Regions from separate parts of the Homo sapiens genome. Here regions 2, 3, 4, 5, 6 and 7 are each linked to region 1. The links are contacts of gene promoters, found by promoter capture Hi-C in human tissues and cell types (Jung and others, 2019). All regions are on one chromosome and are shown on one strand. Each heading gives the region's core, a stretch centred on a gene start or on the middle of the fragment in contact. The rest is flanking DNA. Distances are from core to core; before and after follow the strand shown. Region 1 holds the start of ZNF704 (zinc finger protein 704). Region 2 has its middle 90 kb from the start of ZNF704. Region 3 overlaps ZNF704 (zinc finger protein 704). Region 4 has its middle 68 kb from the start of ZNF704. Region 5 overlaps ZNF704 (zinc finger protein 704). Region 6 overlaps PAG1 (phosphoprotein membrane anchor with glycosphingolipid microdomains 1). Region 7 overlaps ZNF704 (zinc finger protein 704).

Region 1 (3,453 bases), core at 110-2,609:
CTGGCCGGGTCTCTCCCCGGCGCCGCTGACCGTCCTCGGCCAGGCGCCTTGCCCCGGGGCCCGGGCCCGTCCCCCTCCCCGGGCTGGCGGGTCCCACGCGCGCCACCGCGCCCAACACGCACCTTCAACGCGCCCCGGGCCGGGCCCCTGGGGACTGCGTGGCCGGGTCCGAGGGGCACGAAACGCTCCTCGCCGTCCTCGTCGTCTTCGTCGCCGTCCACCACCTCGACGACCACCTCCTCGTCCTCCTCTTCCTCGTCGTCATCCTCCTCCTCCGCGCCCCCTCGGGGCTTCTCCTCCACACGCCCGAGCCCCCTCCGCCGCCTGCTCCCGCCCTCCTCGTCCTCGTCTTCCTCCCCTAGAAGCAGCAGCACCGGCGACGAGGCGGCGGCGGCGGCCCCGGTGGCCCGAGGGGGGCCGGTCCCGGCGCTGCGCGGCGGCGGCGGCAGCGGCGGCCTCCAGCTCTCCGGGGCGGGCGCCGGGGCCGGGCCCGGGACAGGGGGCGGGAGCCCGGGTAGGGCGGCTTCCTTGGCGGGCGCGGGCGCCGGCCCGGCAGGCTGCAGCGCGGCGCCCCCCCGGCGGCTGCCCAGGCTGGAGCGCTTGGCTAGACGCCGCGCCTGCATGCCTGAGCGCGGGGTTGCGGGCCGCGGCGCGGGGCCGGAGAGTTTGTCACCTCCTCTTCCTCCTCTGCCTCCGCCGGTGGCCGCAGGGCCGGGGACTCGCGGCCGCAAGGGGCTGCAGGAGCCGCCGGCCAGGACCCGCGGCTGCCACTGGCTGCAGAGGCGCGGGCGCCGCCTTCGCTGGACCGGCCGGCGGGGACGCCGGCGGCCGGCGGCTACGGCGGGGCGGCGCGGCGGCCGCGGGCGGGGGTGGGTGTGAGCGAGCGGCGCGCTGCCGCCTCCGCCGCCGCCGCCGCCGCCCGGGAGCCGCGGGCCGCGCTGCGCTCCATGCGGCCGGCGGCCGAGCCCGCGCGCGCCTCTCCCGGCCGGCTGCGCCCGCGCGCTCCGGGCCTACCGCTGCCGTGCCTCGGCGCGAGCTGTTTGTGTTGTATGTTTTCCACCACCGCCCCCCTCTTCGCGAGCCATTCCTCACAACCCTCCGGTCCCCCCGCTCAGACAAAACCCGGACTGGATTTTTTTTTTCTCTTACCCACAGTCTCCGAAAGTCTGGCGCTTCGAAGCAGTTGGCCCTGACACCAGGGCAAACGCTTAACCGCAGCCCATTCTTCCCTCCGGAGGGAGGGGAGTAGACTTCGCTGGAAGTAAGGTTGTCTGTCAAAGTTAGACTTTGAACGTAGAGATTTGCTACAAGTCATTTTAATGGACACTGATGTGCATGGCAGCTACTCCTGAGCTTGTGTGAAATCAAGGAAGGTGTACCAATCTGAGGTTTGGGATGAATTCCTAATATGAATCATCAGAGTCGCTTAGATTTTCGAAACACTGTTTCATGAGCGATTGTCTACCAATCTCACACTCTTTGAACGCACCACTCTAGGCCCTGCGATTGAGCTGCCTTGGCTCTGTGCTGAGTGTGTAGGTCTTTCAGCTTTTACTCCTGCTATTCTACCTTGAGTGCCTGATTTTAATGGCTGAATTCCAAGAAGCTTTCTGTTTGCACTGTCTGATCTGTAGACTCTCTTCTGGCATTGTTCAGGACTTTGAAGAAACAAATGGGTGGGAGTTCAAGATCGTTTGAGTTGGTTACTTAAGAAATTAATATGAAGTAAGACCAAATCTGGAAATCAAGCACATAACATGACTAATTTTGCCATTTTCTGACGATTTTTAGGTGTGATAAAGAAAATATATTTGCTATTGCGTGGGGTTAGGCTATGTAGTAAGTGGTATTTCTTCTTTTATTTATTTTAATTTTTATTTATATATATTTCTTTATTTTTCAGATGGAGTTTCGCTCTTGTTGCCAAGGCTGGAGTGCAATGTCATGGTCTGGGCTCACTGTAACCTCCGCCACCTGGGTTCAAGCGATTCTCCTGCCTCAGCCTCCTGAGTACCTGGGATTAAAGGCGCGCTCCACCATGCCATGCTAATTTTGTATTTTTCGTAGAGACAGGGTTTCACCATGTTGGCCAGGCTGGTCTCAAACTCCTGACCTCAGATGATTTGCCTGCCTTGGCCTCCCAAAGTGCTGGGATTACAGGTGTGAGCCACCGTGCCCGGCCTTAAGTCGTATTTCTTACATTCAAATCATACCCCCAATTCCATCCCTGTAGAGGAGGGCTGGGGAGGATCTTACGCATCAAATACCCTGGTAGGCACCTCCGTGGGGCCAGAATAAAAGGTGTATTCACCTTCAGTTAATTATTGTTGGACATTTAACATCATATGCTCTGTTAGACACTTGAATGGGGCTCATTAAATGCTCACTTATGGTGGCTTCCAACTGTTGAACAGGGATGATGACAAAGATTCTAAAATGAACTTTTTGTTCTCCCTGAATCAGATTAGCTTCCTGATGTACCTATTTCAGGTGATGAAACTCTCATTATAATCATTTGAGCCCAAAATAGCGGTATCATTTTAACTCCCTTCTCTACCTTATCCCTAGAGGCAATTGCCCACAAGTCCAACCCATTGTTCTTTCTAAAATGCATTTTGAATCCACCCCTTCCTTTCCATTCCCAAAGCTCTTACAGCATTTTGTGACTTCAAAAGTGGAAGTTTCTAACAGTTCTACACACCCATTTTCTCACCCACACACCCTCCCTTTCCCTCCTCAGATGCCACCACCAGATTTATGTTTCCGAAACCCCATTTAGATCACACCATTTTCTTGTTGGACTTTATATTTGTAAATATTCTGTTCAGGAATTCAGAGAGAAGAAAACAGAACATTAAGAGATGGGTGTGTCTGATCAAAGCATGGAATAGCAGGGGCTAGCCAATAAGTGAATAATCAGTATCAGCTAGAGTGTGCAAAGAATTAAGAAAGAACATTAAGGTGGTTTCATCCCAATTGGAAGAAATTTAGCTTCGTTGATTTGGGAGATGATTTTAGAGTGAGGCAGCAGGATCTTTCTCTGGCCATGAAAAGGAAAGATCGGGGCAAGGGGTGGGCAGACAGGTATGGAGGAGGTGGAGGAGGACAAAGGTGTGAGGCAAGCTGGCTAGTAGTTAGGCACATGGTCTCAGGAGCACCTAGGTCCGAATCCTGACTCTGGAACTTACCAGCTTTACTTTTACTCATCCTCTTTCTGTGCCTGTTTCCTCATCTGTGAAATGGGGATCATAGTAGTAAAGTTGTTTTGCAGAGTAATGAGTGAATAAATGCAATCAGCTTACAAGAGTGCCTGGGACAAGCTAGGGTTTATATGCGGGCTTATCATACTAAACATTGTAATGGTAGGTAAACAAGGTGGCTTGGGATACTCTCAGAGAATAACAAGGTAGCTCTCTTTTAAGTAAGCTCAGTAATGTCAGTAACTAGCAAAAT
Region 2 (3,939 bases), core at 1,141-3,640, 90 kb after region 1:
AATATTCTATAACTAGTTGTAGAAATGGAAAGATGTACATTCTGAGTCCAATCTGAAATCACTGCCTACCTCTCTTCAACCTTCTCCTTCTATATCTGTAGTTCATTAATATCATCATCTTCTATCCAGAGACCCAAGAGTTGTCTTTTCATCTCTATGCCCCTAATTCTGTACATCTTATGAGTAGCCAGATCCCTTTGTTACACCACCTACTGATGTCTAAAATTAGCATTTTTTCTCCCCATTTCCTCTGCCCTGGTCAAGCCTTCATTGGCCCATCTGAACTGATCTCCCAGCCTCTGATCTCAGCATCCCCCCTTGCGAACTTCAAGTGCCTCGGATGCAAGCCCCTTAACTCCTTGCCATCATATGTACAAATGTTGCCTGCATCGCCTACAAGGCTGTGAGTTCCAGAGGGGTTGGCGGGGGGGGTCTGTCTGATCCACCTTTGTGTCATCAGTACAATGCCTGGTAGGTTGGCTGTGAGTAAACCTACATGCTATTCATCTATCTGTTTATCCACCATCCATCCCTTCAACATATATTAATGAGGCCCTATTATGGGCAGGCACACTTGTAGGTAAATGAGAATATGGAAGTAAACAAAATAGATATTGCTGTCCTTAGATATGTTGCTTCTTACACTGATGCATACACTTAAACCTTTATAAAGACATTTTATAAATTTATGGAGTCAAACAGATCAGTGTTTTCCTCTATGATTTGTGCTTTTGTGCATTGCATATTTCAGTTCTAAACCATACATAATAAAGCCATAATAAATATCTCCCACAGCAGAATTTTAAGAACTCAGGCTTGGAAATAAAATTACCTGAGTTCAAATCTCATCTTTGCCACTAAAATCTGGACAAATTTGTTAACTATTCTATGCTTCAGTGTGATATCATTGATTACCATGAGAATAATTATTTAACTCATTAAAGTTGTTTTGAAGATTAAATGAGCTAATACAGTGAGATGCCTGTAGAATGGTAACTCATAAATAGTAAGCTTATATTATTGTAGCTAGTATGTTTGTTTCTTATTATTCTCTCTTTCGTCCATCTGAAGTTTATTTTCATTTATGGTGTAAGTTGGGAATTCAATTTTATGTTCTTTTTTGTTATTTTCTTTTCGTATGTGTTTTGTTTTGAGACAGGGTCTTGCTCTGTTCTCCAGGCTGGAGTGCGGTGACAGAATCATAGCTCATTGCAGCCTCAACTTCCTGGGCTCAAGTGATTCTTCTACCTCAGCCTCCCAAGTAGCTGGGATTACAGGTGTGTGCCACCATGCCCAGCTAATTTTTTAAAAATGATTTTTGTACACAGTGTCTCACTGTGTTGCCCAAGCTGGTCTGAAACTCCTGGCCTCAAGTATTATGTTATGTTTCATATGGAAAACCAATTTTTGCCAAACTTCTGTTTAAAATCTTTCAGTGGCCTCTATTTGCTCCTAATATCACAGTACAATTCTTTTTTTTTTCTTTTTTTTTTTTTTTGAGATGGAGTCTTGCTGTGTCACCCAGGCTGGAGTACAGTGGCGTGATCTCGGCTCACTGCAACCTCTGCCTCCTGGGTTCAAGCCATTCTCCGGCCTCAGCCTCCACAGTAGCTGGGACTACAGGCGTGCACCACCACGCTGGCTAATTTTTGTACTTTTGGTAGAGACGGGGTTTTGCCATGTTGGCCAGGCTGGTCTCAAACTCCTGACATCAAGTGATCCGGCCGTCTCAGCCTCCCAAACTGCTGGGATTACAGGCATGAGCTACTGTGCCTGGGCTATCACAGTATAATTCTTGATTTGATCTACTCTGCTCTGTGGAATCTGGACCCTGCCTCTCTCTCATATTTCCCTTTTTTGTGACTCTATCTGTGGTTCAGATACCCTGCCTTCTTTTGTGGTCCAGGAACATACCAGTGTCTTTTCCTCCCTGGGGCCTTTGCACTTGCTATTTTCTCTTCTTGGAATGTTTTTCTCCCCAAGTTTTATACTGATGCCCCAAGTCATTCAGGCCTTCCCTGACCACCCAGTAGAAAAGGTATCATTCTTCCTGCCCTAACAAACCAAGGCAGTCTCTATTTTATCATCATTTCATTAACTTTATTCCATTTTGTTTTACTCATCACATTTCGGATCTGAAATTTGGTTTGATTAATTATTTTTCTTCCCCTGCTAGAATGTAAGCTTCATTGGAACAGAAACCATTAGCTGTTTTATTTATTGCTGTATCCCCAACATCTAGAACAGTGCCCGGGAAATAGTAGATAATAATTAGTGATTAGTCTGTACTTTTCTCCTGATCCAAACAGGCTTGCTTTCTAGATGGATAATACTGGCAACAGTACGGAAGGTTGATTTGAGGTGCTACAGAGTGACTTAGGATGGGGACTGGCTGGACAAGGGCAGGAATGGTGGAGAAGGAGACATGCCGGAGGCCTGGCAAGCTGGCCCGTTATTGATTTATGTGTGCTTGTGTGAGAAGATCAAGGTTTTCCTGGCTTGGAGCCCTGGCGTTGGCTGTGCACCATGCCTGGAATTTCTTTCACTGGCTTATTATTTCAGTCTCACATTAAATGTAACCTGCTCATAGAGGCCTTTCTGGAGGCCTCTCTGTAAAGTGGATCTCCAGAGACTTGGTACAATCAGTGGAGACATTGAGATGCTGAATACCCTGAGAATTTAAACGTGTATGTCAAACATTTAAAGGTAGGCACTAAGGCCATTAGAATGTGAGCTCCAATGAGGCAGGAGTTCTGTCTCTTCTCTCTCACCCTGTTTCAGCTCCTGGCACATAGTAAATACTCAGCAAATATTTATGGAATGAATCAATATTTGGTTTTCCTGTGGCTTGTTTTGTTTTCCTGTTAACTTTGCTTTTCTACTTTGATGTTGCGATGATTAATTTTTTTTCCTTTGGGCCTAAACATTTAAAGCTGTTGCTTTGAATGACGTGTCTGTTTTAGAAGACACTCTGCCAGATTGTGGTGCTGTTTATCTGCATGTCAGATGTCTGCCTTCTTCCCCGTGCCACTGCTTTTTGGGCTGGTTTGACTTGGAGGATATCCCTATCTTGTTACCCTGGCATCTCTTCAGAAATTCACAGTCACAGAGAAGCTTTCGGTGGGGGAAGAGTTCAAGTATGAAATCCTAAGATTCGTAGGCACTAGTTCAAGACAGGCTTGTAAGATTATGGATGATAGAAAGGTAGGAGAATTCAAATCAAACCAAACATTTATTTAGTGCTTGCTGTGTGCAGGAAATTGTAGTGTATGCTACGGGGAATATTTCAAAGTTAATGTGCCCTGAAGAGCAAACAAGGCAGCTCGGAAAGATGATTCCACTCCAGAACAACCACATTTACATTGGGACATACCGAGGGAGACATTGTGGAAACAGATGTGATGCCTGGGAGACAGCTGGCTTTGGAGTGCCGAGGTCCAGCCTTGAGATTTTAAGAATCATCTAGGATGGGAGCAAACATTCAAAATGGCGACCTCAAAAGTACAGTAAGGTCCTGGATAACTCTTCAAAACTGAAAAAAATCGTATTGCAGATTGTATTCACAGAGGTAGAAAGATGGACCCAAGGAGAAACATTTAAAAAAAAAATGATAAAGTCTGGACTGTTTGGCTCACCTTAACTAGGGTATCAGAATTCTCCAGTCCTCTTAATGAGCACTTGGTAAATGTCTACGTCCTAGAATCGGCAGTACACCCACCTCTGACAGAAGAGGCGAGTGCTCCATTCTACAGGTGACAGGGAACCTTCGAAACTGCTGAGCTCTGGAGCTTCCATTTCCCCAGACAGCCCAGGTGGGAAACCAGGATCTGTGTTCCAAAGACTCAGAACAAACATTTCTTAGCGCTGAGCCTCCACACACAGAATGGAGTTGTGATTAATACTCTGGGAAAGGAAAGTTCTGCCCGTGTGGTGAGAAAT
Region 3 (3,540 bases), core at 133-2,632, 70 kb before region 1:
AGGGAAGTGAGAACTCTTCAAGGAGAAATACAAACTACTGCTCAAAGCATCAGAGGACACTAAACAAATGGAAAAACATTCCATGCTCATGGATAGGAAGAATCCGTATCATTAAAATGGTCATACTGCCCAGAGTAATTTCTAGATTCAATCCTGTTCCCTTTAAACTACCATTGACATTCTTCACAGAATTAGAAAAAACTATTTTAAATTTCATATGGATTAAAAAAGCCCAAATAGCCAAGACAGTCCTAAGTAAAATGAACAAAGCTGGAGGCATTACACTACCCATCTTCAAACTATACCTCAAGGCTACAGTAACCAAAACAGCATGGTACTGGTACAAGAACAGATACATAGACCAGTGGAACAGAATAGAGAACTCAGGAATAAGACTGCACACCTACAACCATCTGATCTTTGACATACTTGACAAAAACAAGCAATGGGGAAAGAATTTCCTATTTAATAAATGGTGCTGGGAGAACTGGCTAGCCATATGCAGAATATTAAAACTGGACCCCTTCCTTACACCATATACAAAAATTAATTCAAGATGGATTAAAGACTTAAATGTAAAGCCAAAATTACAAAATCACTAGAAGAAAATCTAGGCAATAACATTCAGGACATAGGCACAGGCAAAGACTTCATGGCGAAAACACCAAAAGCAATCAGAACACAAGCAAAAATTGACAAATGGGATCTAATTAAACTAAAGAGCTTCTGTACAGCAAAAGAAACTATCATCAGAGTGAACACACAACCTACAGAATAGGAGAAAATTTTTTGCCATCTATCCATCTGACAAAGGTCTAATATCCAGTTTACAAGGAGCTCAAGTAAATTTAGAAGAAACAAAAAAATCCATTAAAAAGTGGGGAAAGAACATGAAAAGACACCTCTCAAAAGAAGACATCCATGTGGCCAACAAACATATGAAAAAAAACCTCAACATCACTGATCATTAGAGAAATGCAAATCAAATCCATAATGAGATACCATCTTACACCATTCAGAATGGCTATTAAAAAGTTAAAGAACAATAGATGCTGGTGAGGTTGCAGAGAAAAAGGAATGCTTTTACACTGTTGGGAGTGTAAATTAGTTAAACCATGGTGGAAGACAGTATGGCAATTCCTCACAGACCTAGAAGCAGACATACCATTTAACCCAGCAATCCCATTACTGGGTATATACTCAAGGGAATATAAGTTATTCTATTATAAAGACACATGCATGCATATGTTCACTGAAGCACTATTCACAATAGCAAAGACGTGAAATCAACCTAAATGCCCATCAATTATAGACTGAATAAAGAAAATGTGATACATATATACCATGGAATACTATGCAGCCATGAAAATGAATGAGATTATGTCCTTTGCAGGGACATGGATGGAGGTGGAAGCCATTATCCTCAGCAAACTAATGCAGGAACAGAAAACCAGACACCACATCGTGTTCTCACTTATAAGTGGGAGCTGAAGGATGAGAACACATGGACACATGGTGGGGAAAAACACACATTGGGGCCTGTCAGAGTGGGAGGTGGGAGGAGGAAGAGCATCAGGAAGAATAGTTAATGGATACTGGGCTTAATATCTAGGTGATGGTATGATCTGTGCAGCAAACCACCATGGCACATGTTTACCTCTGTAACAAACTTGTACATCCTGCACATGTACCCCTGAACTTAAAATAGAAGTTGAAGAAAAAAAAAGCCATTTTAACACCAAAAATGCAAAGCTGTTCATCTGGCTGAAAATTTCATCATAGATTGGTGGGGTGAGGGACCTGTGGTATACTACTTGATTTTTCTATTAATTCCTTATTTCTAATCATCATTGCAGACAAATGGTAGTGACTACTAGGGTTTATTACTCTTCCTTTTAGAATGCTACTCAAATGTAACTATAAATGTCATTATCAAACTGTAAAAATTAAATATCTTACCCCTGAAGTAGGCAAGGACTAGGTACATAAAACCTTACCTTTCATCAACAGGCCAATTAGTTGACTGTTGTGCAAGTTTCAAGCTTGGGGACCCATCTCGTCACTTAACAAAATTATTATTGCCTTTTAAGTAGTCATCCCCTGCTTTTCCCTAGCACTTCTAGCTTGTGATGCTGTAGCTCTGGGGAACATGGAGAACAAACTGGAGCAAGAAAATTCCTGTTTTTTGGTAAGATACTGCATCATATTCCCAAGCACACAACCTGGAATCCATACCTACTCAATTCCAGGGTCTTTGGTGACAAGTCACTATAGCCATCAACTGCCTTATCAATTCTGGAATTATGGGGGACCCAGCCTTGAGCTAACATCTTTTCTTAGATAACAGGAAACATTACTTGGGAATAATTTCACTTACCTAAGAGAAATGTAGAAAGTCCCTGAAAGTCAAGGAATGAACATACAAAACTAGATATCTTTTTTTCACTGTAGGATTTTTACTTTTTTTCTTTCTCATGAATTTTAACAAAATTTGTTCATTTGCTTTTAGTGTCCAAAAGGCACAGGAATAAGAAACAAAGATAAATGGTTTGGTGTTCTACCTATCAAATTAAGCATCACATTTTCCAAGATTGATCATAATTCTGATTATGGTAAAAGTGCCCTGTTATTTCCTAGCATGGTCAGATTTACATGAAAATATGCCTGACTTTGATTTTTAATTGTCCTCCCTCACCCTAGGATTCTCACTTGGCTCCTGTACGTCTGCAGACAGCAATGCACCACACTGGTTGCATTGATCTCTCCCTAAGCTGCCACCTGCCATCGCCTCCCACCTTTGATCCTTTGCCATCATCAGTGTCTTCAAACAGCACTGCTGTGTTCTGCCTGCAAAAACAAGCGTACTCCTCAGTGGAAAAATACCACATTCCAGCTTGGTGAAGCAGGTGGTGTGTTTCATAGGATGGAGCAGAAAGTAGCATCTCTTCTTCTCAAACAAGAAGGAAGACTATTAGCACATCAGCACAGAAAGTCGTGCATGATGAATCTTAAGTGCTGCCTCATAAATGAAAATGTGGTAAAGTTTGAAAAATCAGCTTTGAAAATGTATTAAGTCCATTATTCAAACCCAAAGTCTTAATTTTTTTAAAAAACCAATTTTCCCATCTTTCAAATAAGGGGGATGGAGCAGATGATGTTCAAGATGCTCAAAATTCTTTTTGCTCCGTGAGATCTAAAACCTGACCTTGGCATCACGTAATGACCATCACAGTCAACACTGCTCACAACATATACAATGGGATGCCTGGTATGTTTTACAGCTATTATCTGGACTAAATATCCCATTTCATTTCCAGCCTAGGTAGACAGAAGATGAAAAGGTTTGTGTTTTTTTCTTTATGTGGACAATCCGAATTCATGTAATTATATTACTCAGAGTCTGGGAAATGAAGAAGCAACAAACATATTTGAACATCAGAGTTTCTGCTACAGGCTCAGAATAACTCAGTTTTTAATTTCTCTTCTTGGAAAAAGGTTCCTTTTTTCCATGAAGGCTCACTCTTCTGAACAGGACCAAAT
Region 4 (3,716 bases), core at 463-2,962, 67 kb after region 1:
AACTCACTTTATATTTAAGTTTTCTCTCCTGGTGAAACAAGTTTATTCAAAATCATATGTACTTTGAGACAAATTTCATATTGTTTTGCATAACTTCAGATACTACTGGGATTAATACAGCGGTAGGACTAGAACTCTACTATTCCATTAGGAATGGCCTCCTTCTCCCAAAAGGAAATGCAAAGGAAATGTAAATAAATCTCAATCCAATAGAACAGTTTGATTTTCACCTTCAGGAGTGGTAGAAATTGTAGTGGGGGGACGTTAGAGAAGCACAACTAGAGTCAAGAACACTCTGGGTTTTGGGAAAGGAAGGCTGACCCTGTTTACAGATGCTTGGAAATCTTGGAAGGTTTTAATGCCAGAGTAAACAGAAACTAGACACAGTTGTCATCTTGAATTTTTTAAAGGTCTCAGAGAATTCTCCCCTTCATGCATTTGTATTAGGGCACAAAGAATAATTTGATTCCAACTTGGCTATTTATGCAGGGAAATAAGGATGTCTAATACTTACATAGAAGCTTCCCAAACTAAGATTAAAATGATGTACTTTGTATGAGAAAGCAAGTCACTGGTGACCCAAAGGAAATCTATAAATATGAATAGCAGGTGCAGTAACAATCTCATTGATTGGAAATTAATAAGGAACAAGGAAAACTTAATACTGGTAAAATGTGTGGATAATATCCATTTATTCATTTATCTTAAAAAAATTATAAATTCCTATTTTGTGCCAAGCATTGTTCTAAGTGCTAGAGATTGAGTGGTGAAGAGACAGTTCCTGCCCTTGCATAGTTCACATTCCAGTGGTGGATATATAAACTCAATAAACCAATGTACTCTTATTGTCAACAATTCTTATTTTATTAATAAAACAAACAGAGAAACAGGATAGAGCTTGACTGGTGGAGGCAGGAGACAGATGTGAACATGGCATGGACTATCTAAGACAGCAGGAAAGTCCTCTCTGTGGAGATCCCATCTGAACCAAAGCCTGAATGATGAGAAGTAACCAGGCCTGTGGTGGGTGTCAGTAGAACATTCCAGGCACAGGAACAGCAAGACCAAAGGCTTTGAGGTGGAGACTAGAATGAAGGCAAATGTGGCTAAAGCAGAAGGAAAGAGCAAAAAAGATAATGGAAAATTATTCATTTAAATAATTCATTTAAGCACCAAATGCATATTTTTTCTCTTTTGGTCGACTGTATTGAAGTGCAATTCATGTAAAATAAACTGTACCTAATTTAAAAGTAAGGTTCAATGAATTCTGACACATGTGTTCACTTTAACTTACTCTAAGACCTTATACATTTTCTCTGGCTTTAAAAATTTTATAGTTTTAGATTTTACATTTGGGTCTATGATCTATTCTGAGTTAATTGTGTTTAGTTTAAGATAAAGGTTAATATTCATTTTTTCCCCATAAGAATCTAGTTGTCTCAGCATCAGTTGTTGAAAATCCTTTCTCTATTCGATTATCTTGGTGTCTTTGTCAAAAGTCAGTTGACTCTGTACATGTGTCTCTGTTTCTGTTGCGTACTATTGATCTGTAAGTCTATCCTTTCACTAATGCCATATCTTCTTGATTATGTAGCTTTACAGTAAGTTTTGAAATCCAGGAGTGTAAAATCAGTTTTATACTTTTTTAAATATATAAAATGATTTGGCTATTTGAGATTCTTTGATTTAGGGTATGAATTTTAGAATCAGCTTGTTAATTCCTACACAAAACCATCCTTCTGGGATTTTGATGAGGATTGCATTAGGGCTATAAATCAATTTGTGGAGAGCTTATATCTTAGTGATTTTGATTCATGAACATTATATATCTCTTAATTTTATTTGGGTCTTCTCTCATCAGCATTTTATAGTGTTTGGCTTATATGTCTCATACGTATTTTGTTAAATGTATTCCTAAATATTTTGTATTTTTATGCTTTCATAAATGACTTTTCCTACAAGTTTATTTTTCAAATTTTTATTGGTCATATACAGCAATACACTTGATTTTGTATATTGACCTAGCATTTTGCAATCTTGCTAAATTTACTTATTACTTATGTGGTTTGGTTTGTTTGAAATGAATTACAAAGTGTATTGGTTGAAACATATCGGTTTATATGTTTGTAATTGAGGTCTAAGGCAAAAAGGAGGCTGTGATGTTCAGGATGAGGGCACCTGAGCACATCTGGAGGCACCAGGCAGACTAAGCAGGGGCTGGGAGCAGATGAAGTCAATAAGCTATCTGGGAAAGTCCTCATTCTGAAAAGCCAGCAGATGGGCCAAGTTTAGTTCAAGAATATGCATTTTTGAAATGCAGATACCAATAAGAGGCAAGATCCTTATCTGCAGTCAAGGTTCTTTTTAATTTTTACTTAAATAATTTTTATATTTGCATAAGAATGCCAGGTCATAGTAAAAGGTTCTAAAAGAGCTATTTTACTAAAACCTTTTAAGGTAGATTATCCTTCGTAAGCCACTTGGGATAAAAGGTGACAGTGAACTAAAAAGACAAACGGGAATTTCATTTTTTCTATACGTGTGTGTGTGTGTGTGTGACAGACACACACACATACACACAGAACTTAACAAAAATTAAATGAAATTTAATGAAAATGTAAGACATGGCAGGACTAAAAACTCATCAAGTAGCTGTTAAAAATCCCATCCCCCGCTCTCCCTTTCCCTCCCACACTCTGCAAGCCTCCCTCCCTCACATCCCACAAGTACTTAAAGTCTATTATACTAAAACAATACAAAGAGCTGGATTTTTTGGTTTGTGTTTTGAATAATTAAGTATCATGGTTGAAAAACCATAAGGCAGAGCCAGCAGTGACCATGAGAATAAAACATTTTTTTGCTAGATTTTGAATCTCTGCAGGCTATGGAAAAGGGTCAAACTGACCTCATCTATCACTTATGGGCCAAGCTAGTCCAACTAACATCTGGAATCCACATGTGGCAACACAGGCTGCCTCTTCTTATCTCACTTCCTATCTTTATAGCAGTGTTGGGAATGTGCATATTTGCACTTTTGGAGAGGGTTCATCGGTGTAAGATTTAAGGCACTTCCACAAACATACAACCTTAGATTTGCTGGTTCGTTTTCCATGTGCTTGGGAAAGAGCTGCTCAGAGAGGACTGTGTAGGGAACCTCCTTGCTCCCTCTTCATGTCCAAGACTATGCCTGGATTTTTTTGTTCGTTCATTAATTTCTTCACTCATTAATTCAACAATTACTTATTGAGAGCCTAGTATGTGCCAAGCATTGTTCTGGATACTGGGGATCGGCAGCAAATAAAATAGACAAAAATATCTATCTTCATGGAATTTATATGCTAAGTCATTTGTTCAACCATGTGTTGCACTAGGACTTGGGTCTGATTTGACAGTTTCATTGGGGGAGGAGAAAATAATCACATTAGCATACAGCATGATAAGTGCTCATACAAAGGTAAGCACATGGTACCATGCAGTGAGTGAACCTATCCTGGGGAACCAGGGAGAGCTCCCAGTGGCGATGTGAGACTTGAGTAGGAATTACTTAGATGTCATAGTCCATTTAGCATTGATATAACAGAATGCCTGAGGCTGGTAATTTATAAAGAAGATAGGTTTATTTAGCTCATGTTTCTGCAGGCTGGGAAGTTCAAGATTGGGCAGCTGCATCTGGTCTTCCATGCTGCCATGCTGCTTCCACTTATAGCAGAAAATGG
Region 5 (3,659 bases), core at 778-3,277, 91 kb before region 1:
AATACATAAACAAATAAGCATGACTGTGTTCAATATTTTATTTATGCATACTGAAATTTGAATTTCATATAATTTTCACGTCATGAAATATTATTCTTCTTTTGATTTTCCCCCAACCATTTAGTGATGTACTAAAAACAGGTGGTGAACCAGATTTGGTCTATGGGCCACAGTTTGCCAACCTCAGCTTAAAAGTGCTGCACTTTGCGAATCGCTGCTTTAAATGTTAGGGCTGAGAATTTTCAAGCCAGTGACATGTCACGAACCAGCCGGAGAGAAAGGAATACACCAGGATAATCCCCAGCAAGTTGGCAGTCTCTTCTAAAACAGCAGCCCATAATGTGCCACCACATTTACAGAAGGGTGTCACTCATGGGAACATGGTCCTTCAGGCATGCCATAGACTTAAAAATAAACTGAGGGCCATTGTGCTGGAGCAGTGATTGGCAAACACAGCTTATCGACTGGATTGGGACTAGATGAGAAAGCCTTGTTTCCACTAGTTTAATTCCACCGTTTTTCTCCCACTGAAGAATGGCTGGAGAATGATGGAGATAGTCTCAAATTCACTCTAATGTATAGGAATAGTCCTTCATAGACATCAGTTAAATGTAATTAGCAATAAATGGCTTTTGCTATATCTCATAATGTTGAACTGTGAACTGCCACCAAAAATATTAGGAAATTACTGCTTAGAGAATGGGCAGTTGCCTTCCCCATCCCCGAGCAATCATCACTGCTGTCTTCTCTCAGTACCTCTTGCTTTGAGTTAGCGCAGCTGGGATATATTTATTTTCAAGCCTCTCTACCTGGGTTGCAGACACAAGCAAGTATGCATAACAGAAATCCATGACAGAACCAAGATTCAATAAGATCTCAACAAGCTGGAGCTCTGGGCTCGAAATAACAAGATGAAATTTAACTAGGACAAATGTAATTGTCTGCATTTACATTTAAAGAGATTCAATTATAAAAGCACAAGTTGGAGGAGAGACGGCTTTACAAGCAGCTGCGTGATGCAGCAGTTCAGAGGATAAAAGGCCTCAGGGATGTTTTTAACTAGAGTCTCAACAAGAGCTAGGGAGATGGGGCTGCTGAAGTACTTAATATAATTTTGGCTGCATTAATACAATTACGATGTCCAGATGAATACAAGAGTCCACTGTACTCTGAAATAATCACATGATATGTAGAGTCCTTCTGCTATTCTAGGCACTAGGTTTTAAAAGGAACGTTAATATACAATAGTAGGAATGGTATTTAGTAATGGGAGTGTAACCAGAAGAGGAGGACGACCAGGGTAAGAAAGAGCCTGAAAAAAGGGTTTCATTAAGGACATCTGAGGGATCTTGGGTTGTCAGCAGTGCTTTTGAGGAAGTACAGTCGCTGCTTGGTATTCGCAGGTGAATGGCACCAGGATGCTTCCCACCCTCAAGGATACCAAAATCCTCACAAAATCCTCCTGTCGTCCCTCTATGTGGGTTTTGCATCCCGTGAATACTGTATTTTTGATTGGTGTTTGGTTGTGGACATGGAACCCGCCCATATGGAGTGCCGACTGCACTTATTGAAAAAAATCCACATATTAGTGGATCTGAGCTGTTGAAAACTGTGTTGTTCAAGGGCACTGTACTTGGAAACCACAGAAATGGCATGGTTTGAAAGTTAAACTACAAAATCAAAGCATAATGGGTCAGGGCTATAAATGGATAAAGTCTATACATTTGCACTCCTGGAAACCAGATAACCAGACTGAACATGTGTGTTCAGCAGAGGTGTGTATGTCCACAGGGAGCAGGAGCAAAAGTAGGATGACAGAAGCAAACATTTGCCTTGCCTAGCCTGCCCTGTCCAGAAGAGAAGGCCTGTCCATCTAAGAAAGACCACAACATTCAACTGTAGGAGTTTGAAGCCATCACACATTTAAATTATGTGACTTTAGTCCATTCTTTTTATTTTTCCCCCAGCTTTTAAGTTCAGCGGTACCTGTGCATGATGTGGTGGTTTGTTACATGGGTAAATGTGTGCTGTGGTGGTTTGCTGCACAGATAATCCCATCACCTAGGTATTAAGCCCAGCAACTGACTTAAGTCCATTCTTGTTCTGACTCCATGTTCTCCTAGCAACTGGGGTAGCCTTTGGATAACGTGACTTCCATTCAGCTTGCCTAATGGGGGAAGGGGACATCATAGATTTCTTATTGGCATTTTTGAATTAATAAACTTTGTTTTTTAGAGCAGTTTTAAGTTCACAGAAAAATTGAGAGGAAAGTACAGAAAGTTCCCATGTTCCCCCTTCCCTCAACCTGTACAACCTTTCCCACTGCCGACATCGATCAACACAGTTACAACTGATGAACCTACACTGAGACATTATCACCCAAAGATCACAGTTTACACTAGGGGTCACTCTTGGTATTGTGCCTTCTAAGGGTTAATGACAGGCAGAGTCACCATTATAGCATCATACAAGGTAGTTTCACTGCCTTAAAAATCCTCTGTGTTCTCTCTACTCATCCCTCCCTTCCTCCAACCCCTGGCAACCACTGATCTTTTTACTGTCTCCACAATTTTGTCCTTTCCAGAATGTCATATAGTTGGAATCATACAGTATGTAGCCTTTTCAGATTGGCTTCTTTCACTTAGTGGTGTGCATTTAAGCTTCTTCCATATCTTTTCTTTTTTGCTGAGCACCCTCTGTCCTCATACTCCATATGTCTTTTTGTGGCTTGATAGCTCCTGCCTTTTTAGCACTGAATGGTATTCCATTTCTGGATGTGCCACAGTTTATCCATTCACCTACTGAAGGACGTCATTGCTTCCAAGTTTTGGCAAGTATTAATAAAGCTGCTATAAAGATCTATATGCAGGTTTTGGTGTGGATATAAGTTTTTAATTCATCTGGATAAACACCAAGGAGTGTGATTACTGAGTTGAGTGATAAGAATATGTTTAGTTTTGTAAGAAACTGCCAAACTGTCTTCCAAAGTGACTGTACCATTCTGCATTCCTACCAGCAACTACTCAGAGTTTCTGTTGTTCCACTTCCTCATCAGCATTTGGTGTTGTCAGTGTTCTGGATCTTGGCCATTTTAATAGGTATATAGTGATTTCTTGTTTCAATTTGCAATTTCCTAATAACATATGATGTTGAACCTCTTTTCATATGCTTATTTGCCATCTGCGTGTCTTCTTTGAGGAGATGTCTGTTCAGGTCTTTTGCCTATTTTTTAATTGGGTTGTTTTTTTATTTTTGAGATTTAAGAGTTCTTTGTATATTTTGGATAACAGTCCTTGCAAATATTTTCTCCCAGTCTGTGGCTTGTCTTCTCCTTCGCTTGACACTGTCTTTTGCAGAGCAGAAGTTTTTAATTTTGACGAAGTACAGCTTATTAACTGCCTCTTTCATGGAGTTTGTCTTTGCTGTTGTTTCTAAAAGGTCATCACCATACCCAAGGTCATCTAGGCTTTCTCCAAGTTATCTTTAAACATTTTTTAAAATTTATTTTTTAGAACAGTTTTTGATTGACAGAAAAACTGAGACGATAGTGTGGAGTTCCCATACAGCCCCCATGCAGTTTCCCCTATTATCTTACATTAGTAGATACATTTGTCACAACTAATGAAACAATATTGATACATCATTATTAACTAAAGTCC
Region 6 (3,808 bases), core at 865-3,364, 110 kb after region 1:
CATGGTATCCACTGCGCTCTCGGGAGGGATTCTGGGCAGCTCCCGACTCTGATGACATTTTGGTTTCCCTGTGCTGTCCTGGGAATCCAGCAGATCCGAGGCCGATGTCTGGACTTCCTCGTAATGCTGCATGCAGGTCAGAGTACTGTCCTCTGAAAGAACTAAAGCAGCACACACATTAAAAGCGGAGAAAGGCAAGTCTTTCAATAATTATTACCGAGAATCAGGTAATATAAAGTTAGGTTAAATCAAGATGCGTGCTTTTTATTTAAGTCTCAGGCACAAATTATAGTTGTTATGACCATCAGTTGGTATCCTACTTCAATCACAGTTTAAAATAAAGCTGTTCATTATATCTTTCCCAATACAAGATTTAATAAGTTATCTTGGCTCTAAGTGTAGTTCACAATTACTTTCCTTAATGTCACTCCAATGAGAGACTCTTGTAGGCAGATTGTCCAATGTGACCAGAAGATGACCAGTTTGATGCCGCTGAACTATGGGAGGCTGGACACCAGAAAGGCAGCATGTGCAGTGACCACAGTCCCCAGCACCACTGACCCCTGCCTGTGTGGAGGGAATTATTGGTAGCCACCCCCTTTCACACAGGTGACTTTTGTTTGGCAGACATAATAGAAACTACAGGGCAAACATGCACCCGTCAGCCATTAGCACAAAGGGACTGGCACCTCATACCTTGCTTCCATCTCATCCCGCCACCAACATTCCTACCTCAAATTAGAAAAAAACCAAATGTGAAATTCTTGGCCAGCCACAGATATGCTATTGTGTGAAGCTGTTCAGTCGTCCCTTTGTCAACCGTGTTGTGAGTGCCTGCCATGCACCAGGGATGGTGCAGGGTGCTGCAGACACATCATTCAATGAAACAGAAAGCCCTGCCCTTAGGATGCAGACACAAAGTAAGCAAGTTATTCCATTAGTGTCTCACTCTGGGGGAATTAGAAATAGTGTTTCCAAGGGGTATGTGAAAAAATGACAACGGATCCCCCAATCCTTCTGAACTTACCAACACCCCTGTGTGTTCTAAATCCCTGATCATCACGGAGGGGGTGAACTTTTGCTCTCTGGTTCTAGTTGTCTACATCATGGTAGACAGAGAACAGGCACTGGTGTCCTGATTACCCCACAGTTTCCTCATCAGTAAACAGGGGTAACAGGACGCCCTCTTACCTCAGGTAAAAGCATGGTGTAAACTCTAAAGCATGAAGGAAACCTAGCTGCTCCTTCCATCAGCAAGAGTACACAATGCATGATGCAGAGGTTATGCAGAGTGACTGAGTGCGTGCCCAGGGATCAGACTGCCTGGTTCCAACTACAGATCCTTAGCCCGCTGACTATATGATATCAGGCAAATTAGCAACATCTCTGTGGAAGGCAGAACGACCCTGAAAAATGTCTGTCTCCTAATTCCTGGAACTTGTGAATGTGTAATGTTTTGTGGAGGGTATGGAGGGATTAGGGCTACAGGTGGAATTAAGGCTGTTAATTAGATGACTCCCGGATGAGAGGGAAGCCTGGATTATCCAGGTGGGCCCAGTGTAATCACAAGGGTCCCTATAAGTGAATAGGGAGGGGGGAGGGTCAGAGAGGGATGTGAAGAATGAGGGAGAGGCCAATGGATTCTCCTTGAGGCTTCAGGAAGGACCACAGGCCTACGGATGCCCTGATTTTAGCCCAGTGAGACCCATTTCAGACTCCTGACCTCAGAATTGCAAGTCAATAAATTGTTATTTTAAGGCATGAGGTTTGTGGTAATATTGTTACAGCAGCAATGTGCCCAGTTTTGTCACCTTTAAATTGTGAGGAGTAATAATACCTATCTTACAGAGTAGTGTTATTATTAATAACAGTAATCTCGTGGGGTAAATGAATTAGTACATGTAAATGTACTAAAATGTACTAAAAGAGCAAATGAATTAGTACATGTACCAGTCTTAGAACAATGCCTGGCACACAGAAGTGGATTAATAAGTAGCAGTATTCATCCAAATGAGGGGTTCTGCTAAAACTGCTAGGAATACTAAAACTGAGCAATAACACATTTCCTACTTTTTGAGCTATGTATTTTGAAACCTAGGACTTCCAGAGGTGATGAGGCCTGTGTGGAAAGCTGGTGTTTTTGCAGAACTTACTGTCCCCATTGGTGAGTGCCCCATTCTGCTCACTGCTGGCAGGAGCATCTGTTGCCAGGCTAGTAACTGAACGGCTGAACATCTCCTTGTCTGAAGGCTGAAAACAAAAACAAAAACAAAAACAAATGCATCACATTGCTAAGAATCTGGACTGCAGAGCAGAGGAGAAGATCCATGGCTTTTTCAAAAAATTAAAACAGCAGAAACAGAAAACAGAATCTCCTATAATAGTCCCCCCTTATCTACAGAGGGTACATTTCAAGACCCCCAGTGGATGCCTAAAACCATGAGTAGTACTGAACCCTATATAGACTATGTCTTTTCCTATCCATATATGTTATACCTATGATGATGTTTAATTTATAAGTACAGTAATTTAACAATAACCACTGACAATAAAACAATATAATATAATGAAAGTTATGTGAATGTGCTCTTCCTTTCTCTCAAAATATCTTGTATGGTTCTCACCTATTTTTGGATTGTGGTTGACTGTGGGTAACTGAAACTGCAGAAATCAAAACTACAGATTAAGGGGAGCTACTGTTTTTAGATTTAAATTAAGTAAAATAAAATACACTAAATTGAGTTCCTTGTTGACTAGTCACATTTCAAGCGCTCAATAGCCACATGTGGCCAGTGGATACCATATCCAATAGGAGATACAGAACACTTCCAGCACTGCAGAAAGTTCTATTAGACACTGTTGTCCCAGAATCTTAGGGGCACTGGGAATCTTCCAAAGCCATGTGCAGAGCTTCCTGCCTGGTGACCTACACAGGGCTATAGGCAGGTTGTGAGATATCAATTCCCTTAGCTCAAGGCAGGAAGGGAACTGGTTGAAAAAGACCACAGCAGCCTCATCCTTACAACACAGGTGCTGTAAATCATTATTGGTAAAGGTGTGCCATGCTATGAGAAACGTGGAAAGGCATCACCCTTTGTCATGTGAAGGGAACAGACTTAAATCTGGTCAGAGATAGATAAGGCTATTGATTTCTGAAACTATTTTAGAACCAGCAAAGCCTCTGGCTGCTAGGTTCACAGAAACAATAATATGCTGAAAATTAGCTCTGCAAACTTTTTATTTATTTATTTATTTATTTTTTAAGATGAGGTCTCACCTTGTTGCCCAGGCTGGAGTGCAGTAGCATGATTATAGCTCACTGAAGTCTCAAACTCCTGGGCCCAAGAGATCCTCCTGCCTCAGCCTCTGGAATCGGTGGGACTACAGGTATGCACCACTATGTCTGGCTGCTCCCATAAGAGATGGGATCTTGCTATGTTGCTCAGGCTGGTCTCGAACTCCTGGCCTCAAGCGATATGCCCACCCCAGCCTCCCAAAGTGCTGGGATTACAGGCGTGAGCCACTGTGCCCAGCTCTGCAAATCTTTCTTATTCTTACAAATAAACTTAGGACATTTGGAGGGAAGAATGGCATCAATAGTTGGTTTTCTGCAGGGATAGAATGTGTAGATGCTACCTAGAACAATATGCCTGGCTCAGCTATAGCTAAGAGTAGTCAGAAAGCAAGTTGGTGTTCATGTATTTCTTTAAATACCCAACTTGTCTCAGGTTGCAGCCCAAATCACTGCAAATGTGATTTGCTCCCTGTTCTTCTCACAGCCTGCACGTTCCAAGAGGCTATCTCATGC
Region 7 (3,382 bases), core at 2-2,501, 110 kb before region 1:
AGACTTTAAGATGCCCCCCAATGATCTCACCTCCTACAGTTCATACCCTTTTTAATACCCTCTTTACTAGTGTGGCAGGACCTACGACTTGTTTGTAACCAAGAGAATATGGCAAAGGTGACGATGTGTCACCTTCATAATTAGGCTATACAGACTGGGGTTCCACCTTGCTGGCTCTGATGACGTTGTCATGGTGGGGAGGCCCACATAACAAGAGACTGAGGAGAGGTCTAACTCTAGTCAATAGCAGCTAGGAATTAAGGCCCTCAGACCAACAACCCAAAAGGAAGTGGATCCTGCCAACAACCACATAAGTGAGCTTGGGAGAGGATCCCTCCCCACTTGAGCTTCCAGATGATACTCCAGCCCTGGCTGACACTGTATTTTATTTTTGGGACAGGATCTTGCTCTGTTTCCCAGACTGGAGTGCAGTGGTCTGATCATGGCTTACTGCAGCCTCAACCTCCTGGTTTCCATCAGTCCTCCCATCTTAGCCTCCCAAGTAGCTGACCACAGATGCATACCACCACACCCAGCTAATTAAAAAAATACATTTTGTAGAGATGGGGATCTTACTATGTTACTCAGGCTGTCTTGAATGCCTGGCTTCAAGTGATCCTCTTGCCCCTGCCTCCCAAAGTGCTGAGATTATAGGCATGAACCATTGCATCCAGCCCTGGCTGACACTTTAACTTTAGGCCCATGAGAAAGACCCTGATGAGCAGTTGACCCAGCTAAGCTGTGCCCCTATTCCTGACCCACAGATACTACGAGAGAATAAGTTTGTATTGTTTTAAGCTGCTAAATTTGTGGAAATTTGTTATCCAGTAATAAATAATACACTTGGTACTATGTTTTGAATGTACAGGTGTCTCCAAAATTCACAGATTGGAACCTAAGATCCAGTGTGATATTTTGATTAATGAGGCTGAATTCTCATGGATGGGATAAGCACCTGTATTAGTCTGTTCTTGCATTGCTATAAAGAAATACCTGGCCGGGCACGGTGGCTCACACCTGTAATCCCAACACTTTGGGAGGCTGAGGCGGGTGGATCACGAGGTCAAGAGATCGAGACCATCCTGGCCAACATGGTGAAACCCTGTCTCTACTAAAAATACAAAAATTGGCTGGGTGTGGTGGCATACGCCTGTAGTCCCAGCTACTCAGGAGGCTGAGGCAGGAGAATTGCTTGAACCCAGGAGGCAGAGGTTGCAGTGAGCCGAGATTGTGTCACTGTACTCCAGCCTGGTGACAGAGCGAGACTCCATCTCAAAAAAAAAAAAAAAAAAAACCAAAAAACAAAAAACAAAACCTGAGTCTGGGTAATTTGTAAAGAAAAGAGGTTTCATTTATAAAGAAAAGAGTCATAGGTCCTGCAGGCTGTACAGGAAACATGATGCTGGCATCTGCTTGGTTTCTGCAGAGGAAACTTATAATCATGGCAGAAGGTGAAGTGGAAGCAGGCATGTCACATGGCCACAGCAGAAGCAAGAGAGCGAGCAGGGAACTGCTGCACACTTTCAAATCACCAGATCTCACAAGAACTCATTCACTATCACGAGGACAGCACCAAGGGAGATGGTGCTAAACCATTCATGAAAAATCCACCCCCATGATCCAGTCACCTCCCACCAGGCCCCACCTTCAACACTGGGGACTACAATTCAACATGAGATTTGGGTGGAGACACAGATCCAAACTGTACCAGTACCCTTATACAAGGGCTGCAAGGAATTACAGAGGCCCTCTTGCCCTTCCACTCTTCCACTACATGAGGACACAGCAAGAAGGTGCTATTATGGAAGCAGAGAGCAGCTTCACCAGATACCAAATGCCGACACCTTGATCTTAGACTTCTCAGCCTTCAGAACTGTGAGAAATAAGTTTCTGTTTTTACAACTTACCCCAGTCTCAGCTATTTTGTTATAGAGCAGGAAAGAACTAGTACAATTGGTTAAAAGGTAAATTTCTTTGTGTCACAGACATTTGTGGTGCTCTCAAATAACTGGCACTAAAAATTCTAACTATAAATTTAACCTTTTTGGGGGTTTGGGCCATAATCCTGAAAGACACAATCCTAAACACTATAATCCTGAACACTGAAATCCCCAAAAATCATAATCCCTAACATCTAAAATCCTGGAAATCACAATCCTGAGAGATCAAAATCTTGAAAATATAATTCTGAAAAAATAACTTAATAAAAATTCCTTGAGACATTTATTTACATTTTTGAAAAGGAGATTTGAGAAACATCTAAAAACATGATAAAATATGTTGTAGGCCACTTTACACAATAAAATAGGCAAGAACTAATATACAGATATTTGTAAGCATAAACACTCAGGTATACTAACAATGGTCACATGGGTGTAAAAGTTATGAGAAGACAAATCATATTCATAAATAGGTCAAAAGGCAAAATGTATAAACAAAGTCACTGTGGTTGGTAATTGTGTACACCCAGCTTTATAACTGTGGCATCTGAAATACCTTGATAGATAACCTAAGTCTTTTGATGAGATCTGTTAATAAACTTCAATGGGTCACCACCATATATGCAGTTGCCCAAAGAACCAAGATCTAAAGAAATTTTATCTTTAACAAATGCAGGTGTACAAAAGGACATCTTCATTTACTGAGGAAGTTTCAATATTTCTACATATGCGCACAATGCTTATACCCAATGTTGTGATAATGCACTTTTGTGAAGTCAAATTGGCCAAAAAAAAGCATAAAATGAATTAGATGTCTCTAAAAATCTTGACACAATTTATACCTCCAGTATTGGACATGATGTGAAAATGAAATACATCACATAGCAAATTGATACTATGTGTGAAGGGGCAGAAGTCATAAGTGACTGAATAGTTTGGCAGGTGTATTACTTCATTTTCATACTGTTACAAAGAAATATCTGAGACTAGGTAATTTATAAAGGAAAGAGGTTTAATTAACTCACAGTTCCACATGACTGGGGAGGCCTCAGCAAACTTACAATCATGGTGAAAGGTGAAGGGGAAGTAAGGACCTTCTTCACATGGTGGCAGGAGACTGAAGTGCAAGCAGAGGAAATGCCAGATGCTTATAAAACCATCAGATCTCATGAGAACCCACTCACTGTCACGAGAACAGCATGGGGGAAACTGGTCCCATTATCTAATCACCTCCCTCCCTTGACATGTGGGGATTACAGGTCCCTACCTCAACATGTGGGTATTATAATTCAAGATGAGATTTGGGTAGGGACATAGCCAAACCATATTATTCTGCCCTGGCCCCTCTCAAATCTCACGTCCCTTATACATTTCCAAACCAATCATGCCTTCCCAACAGTCCTCCAAAGTCTTAAGTCATTCAAGCATTAACTCAATGTCCA

The links. Contacts are between HindIII fragments. The study calls those that stand out against the background at their distance.
Region 2: a contact is called between a fragment that was not itself captured here and the fragment with the promoter of ZNF704 in region 1, in 9 of the 25 tissues and cell types used here (adrenal gland, aorta, dorsolateral prefrontal cortex and 6 more).
Region 3: a contact is called between a fragment that was not itself captured here and the fragment with the promoter of ZNF704 in region 1, in 2 of the 25 tissues and cell types used here (heart right ventricle and thymus).
Region 4: a fragment that was not itself captured here is called in contact with the fragment with the promoter of ZNF704 in region 1 in 3 of the 25 tissues and cell types used here (aorta, heart left ventricle and mesendoderm cells).
Region 5: a contact is called between a fragment that was not itself captured here and the fragment with the promoter of ZNF704 in region 1, in 2 of the 25 tissues and cell types used here (hippocampus and mesenchymal stem cells).
Region 6: a fragment that was not itself captured here is called in contact with the fragment with the promoter of ZNF704 in region 1 in 2 of the 25 tissues and cell types used here (dorsolateral prefrontal cortex and psoas muscle).
Region 7: a contact is called between a fragment that was not itself captured here and the fragment with the promoter of ZNF704 in region 1, in 2 of the 25 tissues and cell types used here (H1 embryonic stem cells and dorsolateral prefrontal cortex).

The regions. Positions count from the first base shown.
Region 1 is chr8:80,873,422-80,876,874 of GRCh38, forward strand. It overlaps ZNF704 (zinc finger protein 704), which reads right to left and starts at 1,360. Exons shown (of 9, transcript NM_001033723.3): 1 at 1,150-1,360. RefSeq lists a silencer at 39-239. The HindIII fragment of the contact is 4,011 bases long and covers 1-3,370 here.
Region 2 is chr8:80,962,676-80,966,614 of GRCh38, forward strand. No RefSeq gene overlaps it. Among named protein-coding and RNA genes, the nearest start is that of ZNF704, 90 kb to the left of the region's middle. The HindIII fragment of the contact is 4,980 bases long and covers 1-3,939 here.
Region 3 is chr8:80,803,132-80,806,671 of GRCh38, forward strand. All of the region lies in intron 2 of ZNF704 (zinc finger protein 704), which reads right to left. Among named protein-coding and RNA genes, the nearest start is that of ZNF704, 70 kb to the right of the region's middle. The HindIII fragment of the contact is 3,589 bases long and covers 1-3,177 here.
Region 4 is chr8:80,940,459-80,944,174 of GRCh38, forward strand. No RefSeq gene overlaps it. Among named protein-coding and RNA genes, the nearest start is that of ZNF704, 68 kb to the left of the region's middle. The HindIII fragment of the contact is 8,896 bases long and covers 1-3,716 here.
Region 5 is chr8:80,781,369-80,785,027 of GRCh38, forward strand. The region is part of intron 2 of ZNF704 (zinc finger protein 704); the gene reads right to left. Among named protein-coding and RNA genes, the nearest start is that of ZNF704, 92 kb to the right of the region's middle. The HindIII fragment of the contact is 4,698 bases long and covers 1-3,659 here.
Region 6 is chr8:80,985,217-80,989,024 of GRCh38, forward strand. It overlaps PAG1 (phosphoprotein membrane anchor with glycosphingolipid microdomains 1), which reads right to left. Exons shown (of 9, transcript NM_018440.4): 6 at 2,154-2,250; 7 at 1-161. Among named protein-coding and RNA genes, the nearest start is that of ZNF704, 110 kb to the left of the region's middle. The HindIII fragment of the contact is 9,585 bases long and covers 1-3,808 here.
Region 7 is chr8:80,759,381-80,762,762 of GRCh38, forward strand. All of the region lies in intron 2 of ZNF704 (zinc finger protein 704), which reads right to left. Among named protein-coding and RNA genes, the nearest start is that of ZNF704, 110 kb to the right of the region's middle. The HindIII fragment of the contact is 4,568 bases long and covers 1-3,382 here.